Regions from separate parts of the Homo sapiens genome. Here regions 1, 3 and 4 are each linked to region 2. Evidence: promoter capture Hi-C in 16 types of primary human blood cells and fetal thymus (Javierre and others, 2016). All regions are on one chromosome and are shown on one strand. The core of a region is centred on a gene start or on the middle of the fragment in contact, and the rest is flanking DNA. Distances in the headings are between cores, read along the strand shown. Region 1 overlaps SYNPO2 (synaptopodin 2). Region 2 holds the start of PDE5A (phosphodiesterase 5A). Region 3 overlaps SYNPO2 (synaptopodin 2). Region 4 overlaps SEC24D (SEC24 homolog D, COPII component).

Region 1 (4,735 bases), core at 991-3,490, 630 kb after region 2:
TTGAACAATGACAAAACTGGTTTAGAATCTGCATATTTGAGAGTCAGCTGGGGACTATGCTACACTGACAAAGGTAAGGCCATCTTGAGAGATCTTATATCAGCCAGTCAATCAATGTTTCCCTACCTCATTACATTTTCTTTTAATTTTTTTTTTTTTTTTTTGAGACGGAGTCTCGCTCTGTCGCCCAGGCTGGAGTGCAGTGGCGGGATCTCGGCTCACTGCAAGCTCCGCCTCCCGGGTTCACGCCATTCTCCTGCCTCAGCCTCCCAAGTAGCTGGGACTACAGGCGCCCGCCACTACGCCCTGCTAATTTTTTGTATTTTTAGTACAGACGGGGTTTCACCGTTTTAGCCGGGATGGTCTCGATCTCCTGACCTCGTGATCCGCCCGCCTCGGCCTCCCAAAGTGCTGGGATTACAGGCGTGAGCCACCGCGCCCGGCCTTTTTTCTTTTAAATTTTTGTCAAAATTAATTGACTTCTTTTCTGCTTGCAAATGGACATTTATTGATTGCTCTGTCTTATGACACTTTTTTTTTTTTTTTTGAGACAGAGTCTCACTCTGTCACCCAGGCTGGAGTGCAGTGGCGCGATCTCAGCTCACCGCAACCTCTGCCTCCCAGGTTCGAGCGATTCTCCTACCTCAGCCTCCCGAGTAACTGGGACTACAGGCGTGTGCCACCACGCCTGGCTTATTTTTTGTATTTTGAATAGAAATGGGGTTTCACCATGTTAGCCAGGATAGTCTCAATCTCCTGACCTCATGATCCACCCCCACTGGCCTCCCAAAGTGCTGGGATTACGGGCGTGAGCACCTGGCCTTATGACATATCTTACATCTTGCGTTATATTTATTTTTATTGTACAAAAGTGTATCTCTCTCCTTGAGAGAAGGTATTGTTTTGTTTATTCAATCACTTTTTTATCAATATGGAAATGATATACAATTATATTCTCCGTATACTCAGGCTAGTAGGGGTGGCAGACAGAAAAACAAGTTATACATCTGGCAAAGGTAATAAAAGTATTCATAAAGAACAGAAGCATTGCAAAAGTGGTGGACGAAGGGGGTGGCTGATCATTTTGGGAAACCTTTCTAGAGGAGGCAATGTCTGAGTTAGATTTTGGGAGATGAGTAAAACTTCAGTCACTGCAACCAGAAAGGGGAGGAGATTTCAAAGCAATGGGAACAACAAGTGCAAAGGCAAAAGCGTGAAATGACCTGGGAACCAAAGCACAGCTTAGTGTTTCCAAGATGTGAAGTGCAAGGAAGAGAGTCATGAGAGAGATGAGGCTGGACAGGTAGAGAGAGGATGAAAAGTTTGTGTATGCCGCATAATGGAGTTCAGGCTTTCCATTGTAGGTGATAGGAGCTAGCAAAAGCTTTTCAGTACAAAAGAGCCTGGATCGGATTGTGTTTAGTAAGACATCTTTAGCATCAATGTGGGCAAAGAAATAAAAAGAGGCAAGACAGAAAAAAGCAAAATTAGATAGATGATAGATAGATAGATAGATAGATAGATAGATAGATAGATAGATAAGATAAATAGATACATGGACAGATAAAGAATGAAAGACAGCATTTGGAAAAGTCCAGACCTAGCACTATCCAATAGAAATACAACATGGACCTCAAATGTAAGCCACATGTTCAATTTTAAACTTCCTTGTAGTCATTTGTCCCAGGTCTCATAAGTTATTGGTTATTAAGGGGCAGAGCTAAGATTTAAACCTGGGTAATCTAGCTTCAGAGTCAAAGCTTATAATTTGACTCTGAAGCTTACAAAACACATTATACTGCCACTCTGAATGCAAAGCCTGTGGAATCAGACAACCTGAGTTCAAATAACTCCTCCTTCACTTACTAACTGTGTAACTTGGAGCAAGTTATTTAATTAACAAACTTTGGTTTTTCTCATTTGTAAAATTGGAAATAATATGCCTATCTTATGGGGTTTTTGAGAGGAATAACAGACATAATGTATATAAGATACCCATCACAGTGATAGGTATACAATAAATAGTAAATAATAGTTGCTATCATCACATATATTGGGCTTGGAGCTCAATATATATCCAAGTTGGAATATATATTTCCCATCAAATATCTAACATAGTATCTGGTCAGAGCTCTGTTTTTTTCAAGAAATGACTTTGATTCATCACAAAGGCATATGTTTAAAGAACTTTGCAAATGAGACCTACAGGCTGGGATCATCCTAAGTCAATAGCTCAAATAATCATGGGTATTAGATCATGAGACAGCACTGGTGAGTGTTCATGGCACTTAGATACCATAGAGAATTGCACTGGAAGTAAAATATATGTACCTTGCTCTTACATTCAAGGAGTCTAAAAGAATGAACTGAATTATGAGAGCACGTTTGTTTGTATGTCCTTTCATTAGTTTGTGATTTGAAAAATAGTAAATAAAAAATATTCATTAGACAAGGATCTATGGTTATATGCCTAAAATCCAAGAAAATTTAATCAAAGGGTCTAAGTACATCTTATCTCCTATTCAGATAATCTAATTCTTGCATGGGCAGGCATTTGGATAAGAAAACAAATGCCAAAATTTTAAAAATTAAATACCCAAAAACTAGAAACAAAGATCTTTTTCTATAACACCTACGATTTTTAACTTTAGATGTCCAAGATGTTTATGGGAATAACATGCCACTTTCTACCAAGCTTGTGGTTATGTGATGTAAATTTACTCTGTCACTAGGATTGCATTTTACCAAAACTTTGCCTTTTTCTAGATGATAAAATGCTAGGTACAAAGCCTTTTAAGAGTTTTTAAAGAAAATTCCTCTGTAACCAATTAGTACTCAAACTCAGCGATTCCCCAGTTCATATATTGAATTAACAGTGCTCATATTGATGCATCTAACCCAATTGTCACTCCATCTCTCAATTCTTTAAATTACATTTAGGTGGTAGGTCTCCTCTTTCAAAACAGGGCTCAACTAATAACACACAATGTTCTGAACGCCAAGCTCATTTGATTTTTCTCATCTCAGTTTCTGTCAGGAGACCCGCCTAGGAAACCTCTCCTCTACAAGATGTTCAGTGGTCACATGCCTGGCTTGTCCTACAGGCACAGCAGATGAGTAACAAGTGTGTTTATAGATTTTGTGATGCTCCAGCTGTCGCTGATGGCAGGGTTTTCTGCTAAAATTGGTGAATTTTTGGCTATCTGCCTCTTTCCCTGAGTAACTCAAGCATCACCAGCGGAGCACAGTGGTCTTAGGAGGCCACACGTTGGAGAAAGAAATTAGATTCTTTGTAGGAACAAAACTACTTGTCAGAGTGTGGCCTAATATGGTGGTAGTGACTGACCCAGAGGCCCCCTAGAAGAACCAAATGTTCAACAGTAATAAAAGGAACTATTAATCAGCTCAGGGGCAGTGCATAGGACTGACGATCAGCTGGTCCGGCTTAAGCCTATGTCTCTTCTGGCTTGCTAGGTAAGACTAGGCAAAGCATTAAATCATTCCGTGCTTCCAGCATCATAAGTCCTGGGATTAAACATGATAATGGAATATATTTTCAACATGTCAGAATATAAGTAAACATTCAAGAGTCCTTTAAAATTTAGAAAATTCATAAAAATATTTCAAATACAAAGTAAAAAGTAATTTGGGGGAAAAACATGGGAAGAGAGAAAAGACTCTGAAATCAGTTAAACAGGTTCTTATACAAACATCTAGAAATACCATACTAAGCTGTAGGTCATATAGGGGGAAAACCTCCATCATGGGAGTCTGTAGTCTAAGAAACTTGTAGGCCAAGAGACTTGTGCTTGAAGAGGAAAGTGGAGAAGGAAGGAGGGACATTGCTGTGGCTTACACACAAGGACAAATCCAACACTTGAGTGGTGATATGTTGAAACTCACACAGACACATTAACAAGCTGTACTTGACAATTTGATCAAATGGAATATATTTCTCCATTGACTTTTAAACCAAACTAAATCAAGGAGGCCTCGTAAAATGAGATACGTTTGTCTATAGGAAAAGGTTTCCAAATAAATTTCAATCCACTAAAATTATATTTCTCTACAATGGCTAATCCTCACCGTCCATCATGCTTACTATTTCATTTCCACTTTGTAAGGCACTATTTTTTTTTAAAGAGAATAACTACAAACACACACACGTGCACACAAACACACACAAATACACATTTTGTTTGTCTTCTCTCTCTTCCTTCTTTAATTAATTCCGAAAATCAGAATTTAATTTAAAAATTTAATTGACAATGTAAGTAATTCTCTTATGCTGCTTTATTTTCCAAGGACTAACACTGGTTTCCCATTAACTCGCATATCTACTCTTATTATCTTGCAGATCGACTCTGCTTGGTTTGAGTAGTTTTCTTAAGAAGATGAATCTAGCTTTGCCCAACCACCCACCCAGGGTCCAGAGTAGAGAATGCTTTCTCTTTGTGCAGAGCCAGAGTGGAACTGTCTTGTAGACAACAGAAGATGCCCCACATCTGAGTAGCAAGAGGTAAAGCCATGCAGAGAAGTCAGGGTCCCAAAATTGGTGGGCGCTTATGAAACTACTCTAAATGGAAGTAGAGTCAACCTCAGAAGCTTTGCTGAGCCAGGTCAGGATCTCCAAACCTAAGATGCAATAGCAAGTCCAGGTGCAAATAATTCCAGATCAAGTGCATTTATGAGGTTGTTGGTGGGTGAGTAGGTCATGGAGAGGGCTCAGGGATGG
Region 2 (4,869 bases), core at 2,288-4,787:
TTGTGTTTTTGCTTTGTTGCATTTGTTTTTTCTATTTGTATGACCAAAATCTTTAGCAGTACAGGTAGGTAACAACCAAATAATGTAGAACCCCATAAGCCACGTTACAGAGTTTGAATTTTATTTTAGCACAGTGGGAATACATTGAAGGTCTTTAGTTAAGCTGTTGCTCATGAGCAACAAATGAGCAATGACATATATGTATGTATATACACATATATATCATTGATTTTATATATATATATATATATATCTTAGTCCACTTGTGTTGCAATAACAAAATACCACAGACTGGGTCATTTACAAAAATTAAATATATATATACATATACACACATATATATATCATACATATACACATACATACATCATTGCTCATTTGTTTGTTATAAATAGCATTAACAGCATTTTTCAAGTTATATCCTGGGAGTGTTTATGATTTACTTATTCTTCAACTAATTCCATAACAAGATTTGAGGTGCTTAGAACAATTCATGCCAAGTTAAAACAAAATAATTGGGCAAATTGGGATAAAGAATAAAATGGAGTTGAAAAACAAGAGGCCCAGGTAATGTCAGTTCAAAATATGCTTACCTTTAACTACTTTAAATTTACAGGAGGTATAGTTACACATTTTGGCTGAATCTCCCAGAGACTAGAACTGTTTGAGACACTTCTGTTCCCCAATCCCTTGTGATATGTTTCTCAGGTAATAGGCCTTCACAGTAACTCCCAAACTATCATATATACCACACAGACTTGAGATTCACTATTGAGAGAATCTATGTACTGTTTTTCTTTTTTTTTCTTTTTTGTTATAGAGCCGGGGGTCTTACACTGTCACTGAGGCTGAAGTGCAATGGCACGATCATGGCTCACTGCAGCCTTGACCTCCTGGGCTCAATCCTCTTGCCTCAGCCTCTCGAATAACTAGGATTACAGGTGTGTTCCCCCATGCCTGGCTAATTTTTAAAAATTTTGTGTAGAGATGGGGTCATGCCATGTGGCCCAGGCTGGTTCAAACTCCTGAGCTCAAGTATCCTTCTACCTCTCCCTCCCAAAGTTCTGAGATTACAGGAATGAGCCACTGTGCCCAGCCTATAGATTGTTTTTCTTGAAGCAATTTTTCAGAAACCTTCCTGGTTTCTGATAATTTAACCCTTTCAGGTTAGGAGAGAAAAATGAACATTTTGATATTACCCACTGTCTTAGTCCATTTGTGTTGCTGTAATAAAATATCACAGACTGGGATATTTATAAACAATAGAAATTAATTTCTCTCAGTTCTGGAGGCTGGAAACTCCAAAATCAAAGTGCCAGCAGATTTGGCAACTGGTGAGGGCTGCTCTTTGCTTACAAAATGGCACCTTGTTGCTGCATCCTCAGCAAGGGTCAGTGCTGTGTCTTCACATAGTGGAAAGAATAGAAGGGGCCAACTGTCTCCTTTGGGCCTTTTTTTAAAAAGGCACTAATGCATTCACAAAGGCAGAGCCCTAATGGTCTAATCACCACTTAAAGGCACCTCCTCTTAATACTGTTGAATTAGGGATTAAGTTTCAACATGAATTTTGGAGGGAATACAAACATTGAAATGATTATACGTGTTTATTTAATCAAGTATCCAACAAAAGCAAATAATTCAAGCCCCAAATTCACTGCATCTTTAGTAGATAAGCAGAGTTTTAAATTACGATTGATCTCCTGTTAGGAGGAATGCATGGATTTCCACAAGAAAAAACTGTACTGAGGAGAAACTTTCCACAGTAATGTGCCACTTTTCAGTCAACGACAGACCACATATATGAGTCCCATAAGATAATACTATATTTTTACTGTACCTTTTCTATGTTTAGATATGTTTAGACACACAAATATCATTGCATTACAATTGCCTACAGTATTCAGTACAGTAATATGCTGTATAGATTTGTGGTCTAGGAGCAATAGCCTAAGTGTGTAGTAGGCTGAGCCATCTATTTTGTGTTAGTACACTGTGATGTTCAGAGAAGGATGAAATTGCCTAAGGATACATTTCTCAGAATGTATCCTGTTGTTCGGTGACGCATGACTGTATTCCATGAGCACTATAATCACTATCATAGTAACACATTAGGAGAGAATTCTCATTTCTAAATCCAATATAATTTATCACCCATTAGTTCATACTCTACTGCTTTGATTGCTTTTCTTTGGTTGTGGCTACCTGCATACAGCAGTAAAGTTTCAGAAAAACTGAAGTCGCAAAAGGTCAATTACTCAATGAAGGAAAGATAAACCATTGCATTGGGGGACTAGAAGATACTTTTAAAAGTTCTCAGATTATCAATTTAATGATGTGTTTCTATGTAGTGAATAATGCCTTAAATTCTTGCCAAGAGTATTTAGAAGGAAGTTGTCAGAAGTATATCAGCTAACTCATTTTTTTTTATATCACTGCTAATGGTGTCATTCACACATTGTGCAACCCATAATTCCAGATTTAATTCTACCAAAAAATATAGGTCATTGCAAAATGCCATATTAAAACTGCCAATGCATGACAGGAAGATGGGGATGCAGACAAAGCAAAGGATGACACCAATTCCTTTTTTAAAGAAGCAAGATAGGGATTGGACAAAAAGGCTGAGCCATTTTTAATGGATACTTTTGAGGGAGTGTTAATTCCAATTTAATTAAAATGATGCATTAATTTAAAATTGGGATAACTGGTTGCCCTCGACTGCACCTGGGTTGCGCCAGTGCTCTCGGATTAACCTAATTGTACAGAGGTGCCCTTGTTTTCTAACTTCATGCACAAAGCATTGGAAATTATTTGTTTGCTTTTTCTTTTCCAAGTAAATCTTTTTCCAGTTATGCATAAGGGAAGTTTGAGGCAATGGTTAAAGGCACTTAAGTTATAATTATTGCTGTTATCATTAACATTAAGCACGGGTATGGCTTTGTTGCAAGTTACCCACCTACACCTGCAAATCTCTCTTGCTAGCACACGCCCCAGCTCTCTCCACCCGCAGTGGTCCGTGGCTGGACCGCTTTAAGTCACTGAGCGGGCTGGGCTCTGAAGGAGGTCGGTCCCGCTCCTCCCAGACCCAAGCGTAGGGCTAGGGAAAAGCTAGGCGGGAAGGTCATTGCACTCCCAGGCCCCAGGAAAAGGGCCCAGGGTCTCATCATCTCTTACTTTCGGGCAAAACTTCCCACATCGCGACCTTCCCTCCCTGGGGCACTCTGAGAACACACCCAGTCACCTAGCGCGCTCCCCAGAAGTCGGCTTGGCACACAGCGCACCCCAGCGGCCGCGCGGCCTCCTTCCAGCCGCCGCCACTTGGCTTCCGGAGAGCTCGCCGGGCGCTGCCGCTGCCGCCGCCGCCGCCGCCTCCTGGGAACCAGGGGACTGAAGAGCCTGCGAGAGCGGAACACTGCCGGACCCCGGGTGGGGGGGGCGCAGCAGCTGCGCCTGGCCCCGCCCACCACACCTGGGCGCCCGTAGAACCGCGCGGGGCGGGGCGGGGCAGGAGGCTGGCCTGGCGCTCCGGCCGCTTTGTCGAAAGCCGGCCCGACTGGAGCAGGACGAAGGGGGAGGGTCTCGAGGCCGAGTCCTGTTCTTCTGAGGGACGGACCCCAGCTGGGGTGGAAAAGCAGTACCAGAGAGCCTCCGAGGCGCGCGGTGCCAACCATGGAGCGGGCCGGCCCCAGCTTCGGGCAGCAGCGACAGCAGCAGCAGCCCCAGCAGCAGAAGCAGCAGCAGAGGGATCAGGACTCGGTCGAAGCATGGCTGGACGATCACTGGGACTTTACCTTCTCATACTTTGTTAGAAAAGCCACCAGGTAAGAAGAGGACCCACGGAAGACCCGGGGCTGATTTCTCTCCCCTGTTGAATTGTGCCCTTCGTTCACCCCTGTTCCCAGGCCCTTTGCTTTTGAAGTAGGTCCTCGGTCCTGTTACGAGGTAGAAACCTCAACTCTAAGCGAGCACAGTCGAAAAACTCAAGTGTCGGATTTGATACAACTTGCTCACAAAGTTCAAATACAAAAATGTACTTGCCGACCTCCCACCCTCACCCCCGACCCTCTTGGTATTCCCCGGGAACATGATTATTTTCATACATCCGTGCTCACGGGCCTTCCCCTAGCCCCTCTCTAGCCCTCTGGTTCCCCAAAATCCAATCAGCAAAACCCAAACAGTTTCTGAGCCCCTTCCCTGCAGCTCCGGAAGCACCATTTCCAAGTCGGTCTTGATGGCTCCGCTCCTCCCCCGTCCCCCCTCGCCCTGGCCCTGGCTGGGCGGGGAAGCTGGGGTGAGGGACGAGTCCACGGGACAGCCCAAAGGCAACATGACGGAACCTTGCCAAAGTGAGTGCGGTTGCCTTTTCCCCCCTTCCAGTCTCCTGCTTGTCCCGCGCGCCTCCTTTCACTCGCTTTTCCGCCGAAGGCTGTGCCGCCAAAAGTAGAGCTCTGCAGAGGGGTTTGCGGCGTGCACACAAAGGGCGCAGGGGAGGCGCCGCCTGGAGCGGACCCCAAGGGGCAGCGCAGACCCCAGAGGCCAGCTCTTTCTGGTCCAGAGCCAAGCGCCGGGGCGGCCCTTGCGGAGGGCGGGGAGGAGGGAGCCTGTCCTTTTGGAGGCGGCTGCGCAGCGGGCAGTCGGGGCGCTCGTGGGAAACGCTCGCGGGAGAGTTGGGGAGGAATTGAGACTGGGAGCAGAGGGACAAGAAGAGTGGAGCAGAGAGTGCTTGGCGGGCGGGTGCCCCGAAGCCTGAGGAATTGATGCATAGTCGGGGTGCGTGGACTCCAGGACGCGCCCCTTTGCAGAAAGAGTCCGTGCCCCGCTGCCGCCTGCTCTGGGCAGCGGCCGTCGGGCAGCGGGTGCTGGCCGTCT
Region 3 (5,129 bases), core at 683-3,182, 650 kb after region 2:
ATCTTGCTACTGCTCACTCTTTGGGTCCACGCTGCTTTTATGAGCTGTAACACTCACCGCGAAGATCTGCAGCTTCACTCTTGAGACCACGAGCCCAGCGGGAGGAATGAATAACTCCAGACGCGCTGCCTTAAGAGCTGTAACACTCACTGCAAAGGTCTGCAGCTTCACTCCTGAGCCAGCGAGACCACGAACCCACCAGAAGGAAAAAACTCCGAACACATCTGAACATCAGAAGGGACAGACTCCAGACGTGCCAACTTAAGAGCTGTAACACTCACCGCGAGAGTCCGCGGCTTCATTCTTGAAGTCAGTGAGACCAAGAACCCACCAATTCTGGACACAAAGTCACTAGAGTCAATCCAGTTATTGGGCAAGAAAGATTTCAAAAGCTCTGGTAGGGGACAGGGAGTCTATTAATAAATGGCAGTCTCCATAGCCGGCACTTTTATATTTTTGCAACAAATCTGTAAAATATTTATTTTTCTCCTGACTTTGAGGAAAGTAAGGCTCACAAAAGTTATGGGACTTGTGTCTGATCATACAGCTAGTGGCAGGAGAATGAAATTCAAGTTCAAAGGCATTTACTATGGTAGATTCCCTCTCAGGCTGTGGAGCACATATTCTTAGCCCTGTGTTTTTTGGGGTATGAGACTGGGTCACTTAATGCTGGTTGGCTCTGATCCAGAGTCCAAGTTTTGATGATTAGGCTTCTGCCTTGTGCTAGGGAACTAATCCTGTAACTATATCCCTGTGTGTCTTACTCTTTGTGACTTAATTGTGCCCTTAATAAATTGTGTGGTAACCCAGCTCTTCTATGACAGGAATTTCCCCTTGCACCTCCTCCTCCTTCCTGGGGGTGAAAGTCCTGCTCTTGAATTTCGCCTGATTGCTTGGACTCTGCTACCACTTGTTAGTAGATATCCCAAGTCCTGTCTGTGTGTATCCTTAAGTTCCTCATAATGGTTGTATTGGATCCTTCATCTCTGTTTGTCATTCATATGCCAGCCTATTCCCACTCTTAAAGCTTGGCTTTTTCTGAAAGGAACTTCTTGCCCAGACAACCCCAAATTTTCTGTTGCCATAGGTGCCCAAACTCTATTCTACTTGTTGATTAGTCTTCCTTCTAGCAGTAGTACTACATAGATTTTGGGATCTGTCACCCAAATTATTTGTTACTCTGTGTGCTGGTCTTTGTCTAGCTCCTTTAGCCCAATGACTGAGCGATATGTGGCCCATAAGATAAGTATGACAGAACAGTGGTGGGAAAGAGTCTGGTGTACTCCTGGAGGTGCAGAGGGTGGCCTCACGTGGGTGCAAGGTGTGTGTGACAGGTTATTGAAAGTAAGGTTGGATTACTGGGGTAGAACCATATTGAAAAGAGTTTTGAATGCCAGAATGTAACACTTGGCTCTCATCCAGTAGTGATGAGAAATTATTATTGGTTTGTAAGCACTCTAGGGAGATTAGTCAGTGTGTAGGATGGACTAGACAGGAGATGACTGAAGATAGAGAAACAAGGAAACCATTAAAGTTCTGCAAAAACAACGTGATGAGAGCCTGGATTAGAGTTATCTGTAATAACCCCAGGAAGGAGGTAAGAGACAACATTTGAAGCAAACTGCACCTTAGTGAGAGATAGGGTATGTAGAGAAGCAGAAGTCAAGGATGAATCTAAAGTCCTAATAATGGTGATGCTGTTGGTAGAAGAAAGAAACATAGGGAAAGAATCAAAATCTGGGGAAAGAAACCCTAAAATCCCAGCTCTCTTTTCAAAATTTTCAGTATTAACATTGATTGTATGTGAGAACATTGCTAGCAAGTATCCAAGCAAAGGGATGTGTTAAAATCAATCAAATTGTTGAATTAAGACTAGAAGACAAATGAAAAATCAAGGCTGAACATATCAATTAGGGATAGATGTGGGAGAAGTCATAGGTGTGGACAAGTGAACTGTGAGGGAAGTCAAACCTAATCTGGCAAGAAATCCAGTTTTCCACAATATTCTGGGTCTAGGCCTCTGCTGGGCCAGTGGCCAAGGATGGGCAAGAGAGTCAAGGATGGACTGTATATTCACAAACAAGAAAGCCTGTTATATAACTTGGCTCTAAAAAGAGCCACCACTACAACTAGGTATGGAATCTCTAAGGCCTGAGATACAATACCTGTGTGAGATTTTCTATCTCATCCCACTGAGAAATGCTACAGATGCCACTTGCTACGGCTGATTCCCTTTGAGCACTAAAATTTACTCTCCCACTAAAGGTGTTGTAGAAATGCCTCTTTTCTTAGCTCAAACATAATTATTGTCCAGGTTTAATATTTAGCTATGTTTAACTCTCATTCTCAACTCTCTTTTCAAAAATTAAAATCATATGACCAAGATAAGCAGGTTGATGATTTAAGTCAGCGTCCTCAGCTGTATAATGGGAACAATAATACCTGACTCCTGCTTTTGTGAAGAAAGAAGAATCTTAAAACAGGTCAATGAAGAATTTACTTGTGTTAAACTATGTTCTGAGTGATGTTAGATTGCTTATTTCAGTGGGGTTTGTTTAGGTTTTATGTCCAGTGGCTACTGATTGGTGTAGCCTATATAGCTTTTATGTAACTTCAGGACCAAACTAGGCTTCTTTTAGTTCTGATACTAATTAATATCCAAAATTGTGGTTAGGAAAATGAAAGGAAAGAAGAAAAAAATGTGGCTATTTATGGTGGGTTCTTTTGTGGGGAGGGAATTTTTTGGCTATGAACTGGCATTTGCCCAACAGTATTCCGAGTTCAGTAAATAACTCAACACGCATGGGTTAAATTTCCAATAAAAACATGAAGCTTAAAAAGTAAGTGGAAAGTACTTGGCAAGATACATATTTACATTTGGTGAAGGGAAATTTTTATGGTGGTTAGCCAAACCTGACATGCACAGGGATTAATTCATCCTCACTCATCACAGAAACGAAAACTGCCAGTATCATATCATACGTGCTATGCTGTGGCTTTCTCTTAAAAATCAGCACCACCGTGAAAGGAAGCTGACCTCTGTGTGCACACACTTAGTGCAAGTGTGTGCCTTACTAGAATCATTATACGTATATATGTATAATAAAACTACTTTTTAAAATGCTGAGAAAGTCTTATATTTGAGGTACTATAATTTTAATAATAGTATAATAGAATCCTTGAATTAATAATTCTATAATTGATGGAATTCATATAATAATTAACAGAATTCACATAATAATATAGAATTACTAATTCTATAATTCTGACTTACTCAAAAATTCAAACGTTTTTCACTCTACAGATGCTCCTCAACTTACAATGGGACTATGTCCCACAAAACCCATCATAAATCAAAAAATACCATAAGTCAAAAATGCATTTAATGCATGTATAAGCCCATTGTAAAGTTGAAACATCATAAGTTGAGTTATAATAAGTGGGGACCATTGGTGTGAAAAAGTGGTGTGAATGGGGAGAAAAAGCAGGTGAGCAAGCGGGGATAGCCAGCTTACAAAATATGTATTTCTGATCCTGTAATATCTAATTTGTTTCCAATTTTCAAATGAAAGACACTGAAATTATTAAGCACTCACTATGTGATGAAAAGTAAACTGAACTTTGAGGAGATTTTTGTAGCTTGCCCAAGGTCACAGAACTAGATTTAAACTTAGAGATGTATAACTTAAAATTGTAGGCAGTGGGCAAAACAGTTTCACCCTTGCTGACTCTGTAAACCTGACAACAATCCTAAGAGGACAATGCTAGAAGTGATGGAGAAAAAACAAAGCTAGCACCTAAGAGACAAATTTGCTCGTTTCCCTTCTGAGTTAGTTTAGACAAACTGCCCTTACAGTTTGAAGGGCTTGGAGGAAAAGAAAAAAATACATAAAAAGTGTTTTATTTTCCTATTTGGGGAAATGTAAGGGAATCAGATTCTGCTTGAAATCTCAGAATTCCCTTTTCTTTTTTTTTGAGACAGGGTCTCCCTTTGTCAGCCAGGCTGGAATGCAGTGGCATAATCACAGTTCACTGCAGCTTCCACCTCCTGGACTGAAGCCATCCTTCCACCTCAGCTTCCTAAGTAGCTGGGACTACAGGCACGCACCACTACACCCGGCTATTTTTTCTTTCTTTTTTTGTAGAGACAGGGTCTCCCCATGCTGCCCAGGTTGGTCTCAAACTCCTGGGCTCAAGTGATCCTCCCACCTCTGTCTCCCAAAGTGTACAGGCATGCATGAGCCTCTGCACTCGGCCTCAGAATTGTTTTTATAAGTATAGTTAAATATTATTCTGTCTCCTCTCTTTCTTTTATGTTCTGAGGAAGTTCTCGTCAGAAGTTAGGATAACTCCTACATAGAATTTCTGTGGAGATTAAATAGAGTTCTACATGTAAGCCTACGAAGCTGTTCAAGACCACTGTAGAGTACTATGACGCTCACTGGGACCACACTATGAGGTCTATCCCTGTAGAATTATGTGATGTTGAAGAAACCATTATTTTCCTTCTTACACTTTCTCAAAAGAGGGAATGTCCACCCCTCTCATGGATGGGAGAACATAACACTTCTGGATCTCTCCTGTCACTTCTCGGCATGGGAAGAGTAGCTAATTTGATTAAAGAGAGACTGAGTCATTGAGCCATTATTTTTCAGAGACCATGGTTACTGCATTGAAAAGGAAAAGCTGGCCAGGTCTTTCTCTTACTGCCTCAGACCACTGTGTTCACAGATGATGCGCTCACTTGTGCTTCAGGACCCAGAAAGTAGGCAAACCCTGCCCTAGCAGGCCCAGCTAGCTTTTGTTCTCCAGGCCAGCTTTGCTGTCTATGAATGAATAAGTCAGGTTGCCCTTTCACTGGAGACCCATTGGCTTTAATGTAATAAACATTAATTCCTAAAAGATATGGAAGCGCCATTCTAGCCTCAGGTCTAAGTCACATTGTCCAGTGCATCTTCATTGTGAGTAAAACTGATCATTTCAAGTTAAAGCCTAAAAGGATGGTGGGATGTAGGAGAGCTACTCTAAGCCTTCAACATTTGGGACCTTTGAGATAGTTGCCCAGTCCTCTGCTGTCTTGAAAACACTGGCATAACATAACCATCCATGGATTCTGGCTCCTTGTTCTT
Region 4 (5,358 bases), core at 1,552-4,051, 860 kb after region 2:
CCTTAGGTAACTACATGAGCCCCACATGGAAGTTGAAATGTTTCTTAAAAAACTCAAATGTAGGGGGAAAAATTTTATTTCTTAATCCCCTTCCACAAAGCCTCAGTGGGAAACAAAATAAGATTTTTACCTCTTATGATTACAGATGATAAACTTGGGAGACTTTTCCTCTTTTGTCACTTCTCAAGGTTATTCTTGAAAATCAGCTCATTGATACTTAGGAAAAGCTTAGGTATAACCAAGGGCTTTAACACTTATATAGATTTTTTTTTTCACTCCGATGTAAATGTTGGATTGTTTAAGGAGGAAGGAACATTATTAAAAAGGGCTTTCCCGTATTCATTATATTTTGTTTTATTCCAGTACGAATTTACTGATTTTGAAGAAAACTGCTAAGTTGCTGAAAGTGTTTTCACATTTATTACATTTATAACATGTCTATATATTTTTAATTATTTGTTGTTAAATGAGGTACATACTGAGGCTGAGAACATTCCCATATTCATTGACATTTTTTGAACCATGTGATGATTACTAGAGTATGAGTTTTCTTCTCTGTTTCTTATCTTTGTAGACAGGCTTCCCTGCAGGTAATTAGATCTGAAGAACATATAGCACTGTCTGCCTGTGAACACATGGTTCTACCCACGGGTGCTGACTACTCCCTAATGCTGACTGAGCTGGGGACAGTATTCCTCCTACATCATTACATTCATGGCATCTTGGCTCTGTGAGCATTCTCTGGTGGGAGAGCGTTGCTTGCCTTCTTATTTCCCTGCCACCTTATCTCGCACACACACAGTCCATGGCTTTACCCAACTTAGGGCGCCAGAGACTGGCCTTGCGAGTGCTTCTCATGCAGACCTTTGGTCAGTTCTTAAACGCACCTTGCTGTGGAGTTGAATCATTGGCTTCTAGACTCATCCCAGCCTATGGCCTAAGCCTCTTGGTACGTCTCTCTCCTTACATTAACTATGGTTTCCACTCAGGGCAAATTGGATATCCCATTGAGACCAGATTGTTAGTTCTCTACCCTCACTTCTCTTTCTAAGGAAGATCTTGTTTCCTCTCTCAACCTGAATGAAATCTGCAACCAAATTCATGGCTATCATTCAGTCTTGGGACCTGGATTTCAGGAACCCTGTGACAATTCATTTCTCTGTGCTTTAGTTTTAGAGGAAAAAATCCTGAGAAGGGACAGAGGCTTCTCCCAAAGCATTTGGACAAAGTCCTCCAGCGAGCCCACCAGCTCCTCAGATGTCTTCACCCAAGCCCCCAGCTTTCTTAGAAAGGTGACCAAAATCATACCCACCATGAAGAGCAGCAAGGATCTTCAGTTTGCTGTGACTCTTTGGCCTCCTACCCAAAGTGTCGGCTCAGGGCCTTAAAAGGCCCAGCCACTTCCAGGAAGAGAAAAACGACTCAGAATTCTTGTGTCTCAACACAGCAGATTATGTTCCCTCAGGTATCCATTCCTAGGAAGCTGCCATGTTTATTTTCCAATAGAATTATTCACACTAGGCTTAAATATGTGTCCCTACAAGGAAGCCAGACTCCCATAGATGTATGCTGACACCTGTCTTCTTTTAGGTTTAACAAAGACAGAGGTTTGTTGGAGTTAGAAAGAACCCAGCAGGCTTGCTTTAGTGATTCCACTCTTATTTCCTTGCAAAGTGTCCAGAGATTGTCCAGTGGGGAGTATGTGTGGTCAGAGACATGCAGGAAGACAGGGGCCAAAGGGTAGTACATGATTTATGGTATGAGTTGAATGTTGGCTTACAAAAGATGATAGACAATATTAAATGCTAATGAATATAAAATAAAATTTAAAGGGAAAACATTTCACATATTACATTTCTGTGTGTAGATGTGAATGAATTGTATGTTATACTATGTGGAAACTACTGTACTATGCATTCTAAGATAGCCGAGGCAGCATCCTCCATCTCATCTAAATGTAACAAAATAGCAATTTAAGACCCTCAAAGTTTACTTACCTCAGCTGAGCCTGTCAGTTGCTACTTATGTAATCTTTTCAAGAAGTTGAATCTTCCAAATTCAGAGATCCATATGTGCATAAGAACCTTATAAAATTTACTTTAAAAGAAATGGCCATGATACAGTAACAACGTAGAACAATCAAGCCTCAGTGGGTTTTTTTTTTAAAAAAAGAACAACCTCAGAAAACAGTCTTGTTATTCTTATGTCAGTTTCACAGCTAACAATAAATAATGCCAAATTGTTGGCTTAAAAACAAGAAGCATTATTTGTATGGTTTTTACAAATGGCAATGTTGTTCTTTACAAAAAGTTTAAAACCAGAGCATTGGTAGTTTTTCTAAATACTTTTATTGGCAGTGGTTTAGTAGCCAGCCCTATTAATCTCAAGGCAACAGGAGTTCGTTTTTACAGAGATACCAGGCCATATTTGTCCAAGTGCTCAGTATGTGACTCATAAGTGTTCCTGTGCTATTGGATGACTTCCAGATCTTTGCCAGAACTAACCTTCTTAGACATTTGAATCAAATTAAAGTTCCTTAGCTGAGATCTTAGTGGTGTAGTCTTTCCCTAATACAGTAATCCTCTCCACTCTTAAGCGCAAACATTAAAAGATTACCATGCAAACTCCACATGGGTGAAGACATCTCTTAATTAAAGCATAATAAATATTGTAGTTCATAGTATAGTTCAAATAACGAATGTTTATTTCTGTTAGGTATATTAAAAATTCAAATAGTTAGAAAAGTCAGAATTCTTTTTAAAAGAGGTAATAAAATGGGGACAATTGAATTTGGGTTGTGACAACTTAAAAACACCAATACTTTTATACCCTGTTTCTCTAGGATGGTCTAAATCATAAATGTTCTTTGTCATCAATAACTTATAGAATAAGAACCCTCCTCTTTTCCAAGACATGTTTTTAAAATAGTAGGTATTTACGGTATACTACATTCCAGCTTTAAAATACATTTTTCCAGATACTAACTCCTTTCCTCTCATAATAAATTTTGAGAACTTACTAAATTGTCTGTGTTTATGAAAACAAAATATTTTCTTTCCTATTTTGTTTTTATTAGTTCCACCATTCTATTTCCAACATCTGGACCACATTGGAAGAAGACTGGACCACTATGAGAAACCAGAGTTATCTCTAGGATCTTATGAATATGTTGCCACTTTGGATTATTGCAGAGTAAGTGTTCCCAGAACTTCAAGTGTTTATACATTGATGTTAAATTCAAGTGAATAACTTTCATATGTAAAGAACTGACTCTTGATTCACAAACAAAGCATTTTGGTGGTACCATGGAGTGGTAGAAATGCCTAAGACACAGATCCCATCTCCTAGGTTGTTAACATGATTCAACTGCCAAACCATCTACTGGAGGAATTATTTTTAAAAACTGAAATGTGGTGTCAGAAATAGAAAACAATAATTTTTTATGTCCTTGCCAGACAGAATATACCTGGTTCTTAATGCAGTAGTTCCGTACAGTGCCTCTGCCTCCCTTATTTTGTAAAGAGTCTCAGAAAAACTTCCCTTCCAAGAGAAAAGCTCAACCAAAATGGTTAGTAGGACTATTGACGTGTTTCTGTACCTCCCTTCCCTCCTGTTGCTACCACGATGGTTTGGACTCTCAGAATCCCCCTTACACTGTCTATCTCAGCAGGCTGAGATCCTGGCCTTTGATTTTCCTGCTCTATAATGTCACCATGAGACACGCCCCCACACTCACTGCCTCTCATAAACCTCTATTGGTTATTTCTTTTCTAAAAAATTAAATTAAAAAAAATTTAGCTTTCTTTGTAAGGCCATTAAGCATTGCCCCCCAAACTATCACCTCAGCTGTCTCTTCAGTTATACAAAACTTTTCACCACATACTCTGAACTCAGCCCCTTTGACAACTCCATGCCTTTATACCAGATGTTCATCTGACCAGAGTATCTTTCCATTCTCCTGTCACATCTTACATACCCCAACTGGCAAACCCCTCCCTATTCTGTAATGCCTGGCTGAAATTTTAATTGTGTATATGCATTTGCAACTTTCTCTGTCTTTATCATGGTAATTATTTACTATAGCTTCTGTTTTTTCACGGAATTTGGTCTATATCTCTATTTTAGCATTTATCCCCATGGAATTTAAACCTTCTTATATGTCTGCCGTCTTCTTAGATTCTGATATCCTCGTCATCTTTATGACATTTACCACACTATCTGCCATGGGATAGGTAGTTGATCAGTGTATGTGGAATGAATAAAACAATGAATTTGCGGGTATTACTATTCCCAGGACTAGCCATTTCCCTTGTCCAGTGTCACAATGACATCATTATGGATACCTTGCAAGGCTTTAAAATTCTTCACTGATTTGAAAATCACATCTTCTTGCGTATCATTCAGATTTCAGCGCATATCTGAAGCACCATGTGTAGACTTGAAGAAACAGGGCCATTCTAACTTATTTTCTTATTTTCTCTTCTAAAAATGAGTGCCTACTAATGCCCAATTCCCAGAAAACAGCTTCTGACCCACAGATTTCTTTCATAGATGTTTGCAAGGCGAGCAGTCATGTATTGAGTGTAGATGATAATGAACATTTTTCCTAACTAGAATTTTTTTCAGTTGACTGGCTCTTAAAATTTTTTCCATTAACATAACTTATTGCATTTATTTTACTACTTTATATGATTATTTTGCAATATACTACGTAGAACTAGTTGTTAAAGAAAATGTGATGCTTTATTAGTTTAAGATGTTGCAACATCTGAACATACTTAGGGAAATTTAGGAATATTTTTGGTACAAATGCTTTATTTTAGGCAAGAAGCATGTCCTAAAATACAGTGACTTTTGGACAGTTTAGTTGTTCCTAACTGCTGTTAACTGAAGGAGAATCATTGGGCAACATGCAAACATTTAATGTTTTAATTCAATGTAAGAAAGCCATTGTAACTAATGATGGAAAATTTATTTGCCGATCTTTGCAACCATAGTATAAATCTAACCCTGCTCTCAGTTTCTAGTTCTCTGCCAAAAAAGTGACATGATCTTGATTATATGCTTTTTTAGTAGTAACTTAGGCAGAGAGTCAAATCTGTTTCTGGGAACAAAAGTCTTAGTATCTTCAAACTCTGTTATCTGGAAATATTCCAGAAGTCTAATTGATGGGAAATCTCACCCAGCCAGGCAAGGAACCAAATAAAAATTGTACATTTTGAAGAACTTTTTGTAAGCATAATCTTCCTTTTATTATTCCAAGTAGAGTTCATAATAAATATGCTGTAAACATCTTCAAATTTGATTATAATTTAAAATGTAAATAAAGTATAATAATGAGTTGGCTTAGCTATTCAG

What was found. The method cuts DNA at HindIII sites, captures the fragments that hold promoters and counts their contacts. A CHiCAGO score of 5 or more calls a contact.
Region 1: a contact is called between a fragment that was not itself captured here and the fragment with the promoter of PDE5A in region 2, in 1 of 17 cell types (endothelial precursors). The highest score is 5.3, in endothelial precursors.
Region 3: a fragment that was not itself captured here is called in contact with the fragment with the promoter of PDE5A in region 2 in 5 of 17 cell types (total B cells, fetal thymus, activated CD4 T cells and 2 more); the score reaches 6.0 in total B cells.
Region 4: a fragment that was not itself captured here is called in contact with the fragment with the promoter of PDE5A in region 2 in 1 of 17 cell types (fetal thymus); the score reaches 6.1 in fetal thymus.

Annotation. Positions count from the first base shown.
Region 1 is chr4:118,992,669-118,997,403 of GRCh38, reverse strand. All of the region lies in intron 1 of SYNPO2 (synaptopodin 2), which reads right to left. Among named protein-coding and RNA genes, the nearest start is that of SYNPO2-AS1, 10 kb to the right of the region's middle. The HindIII fragment of the contact is 915 bases long and covers 1,783-2,697 here.
Region 2 is chr4:119,627,472-119,632,340 of GRCh38, reverse strand. PDE5A (phosphodiesterase 5A) reads left to right here and starts at 3,537. Exons shown (of 21, transcript NM_001083.4): 1 at 3,537-3,821. The coding sequence starts at 3,670. LOC107986192 (a long non-coding RNA gene) reads right to left here and starts at 4,551. Exons shown (of 1, transcript NR_165235.1): 1 at 1,586-4,551. RefSeq lists silencers at 3,204-3,603, 4,824-4,869 and an enhancer at 4,644-4,693. The HindIII fragment of the contact is 7,676 bases long and covers 1-4,869 here.
Region 3 is chr4:118,971,290-118,976,418 of GRCh38, reverse strand. All of the region lies in intron 1 of SYNPO2 (synaptopodin 2), which reads right to left. All of the region lies in intron 2 of SYNPO2-AS1 (SYNPO2 antisense RNA 1), which reads left to right. Among named protein-coding and RNA genes, the nearest start is that of SYNPO2-AS1, 11 kb to the left of the region's middle. The HindIII fragment of the contact is 1,805 bases long and covers 1,030-2,834 here.
Region 4 is chr4:118,762,636-118,767,993 of GRCh38, reverse strand. SEC24D (SEC24 homolog D, COPII component) reads left to right here. Exons shown (of 23, transcript NM_014822.4): 10 at 3,077-3,192. Among named protein-coding and RNA genes, the nearest start is that of SEC24D, 71 kb to the left of the region's middle. The HindIII fragment of the contact is 5,143 bases long and covers 230-5,358 here.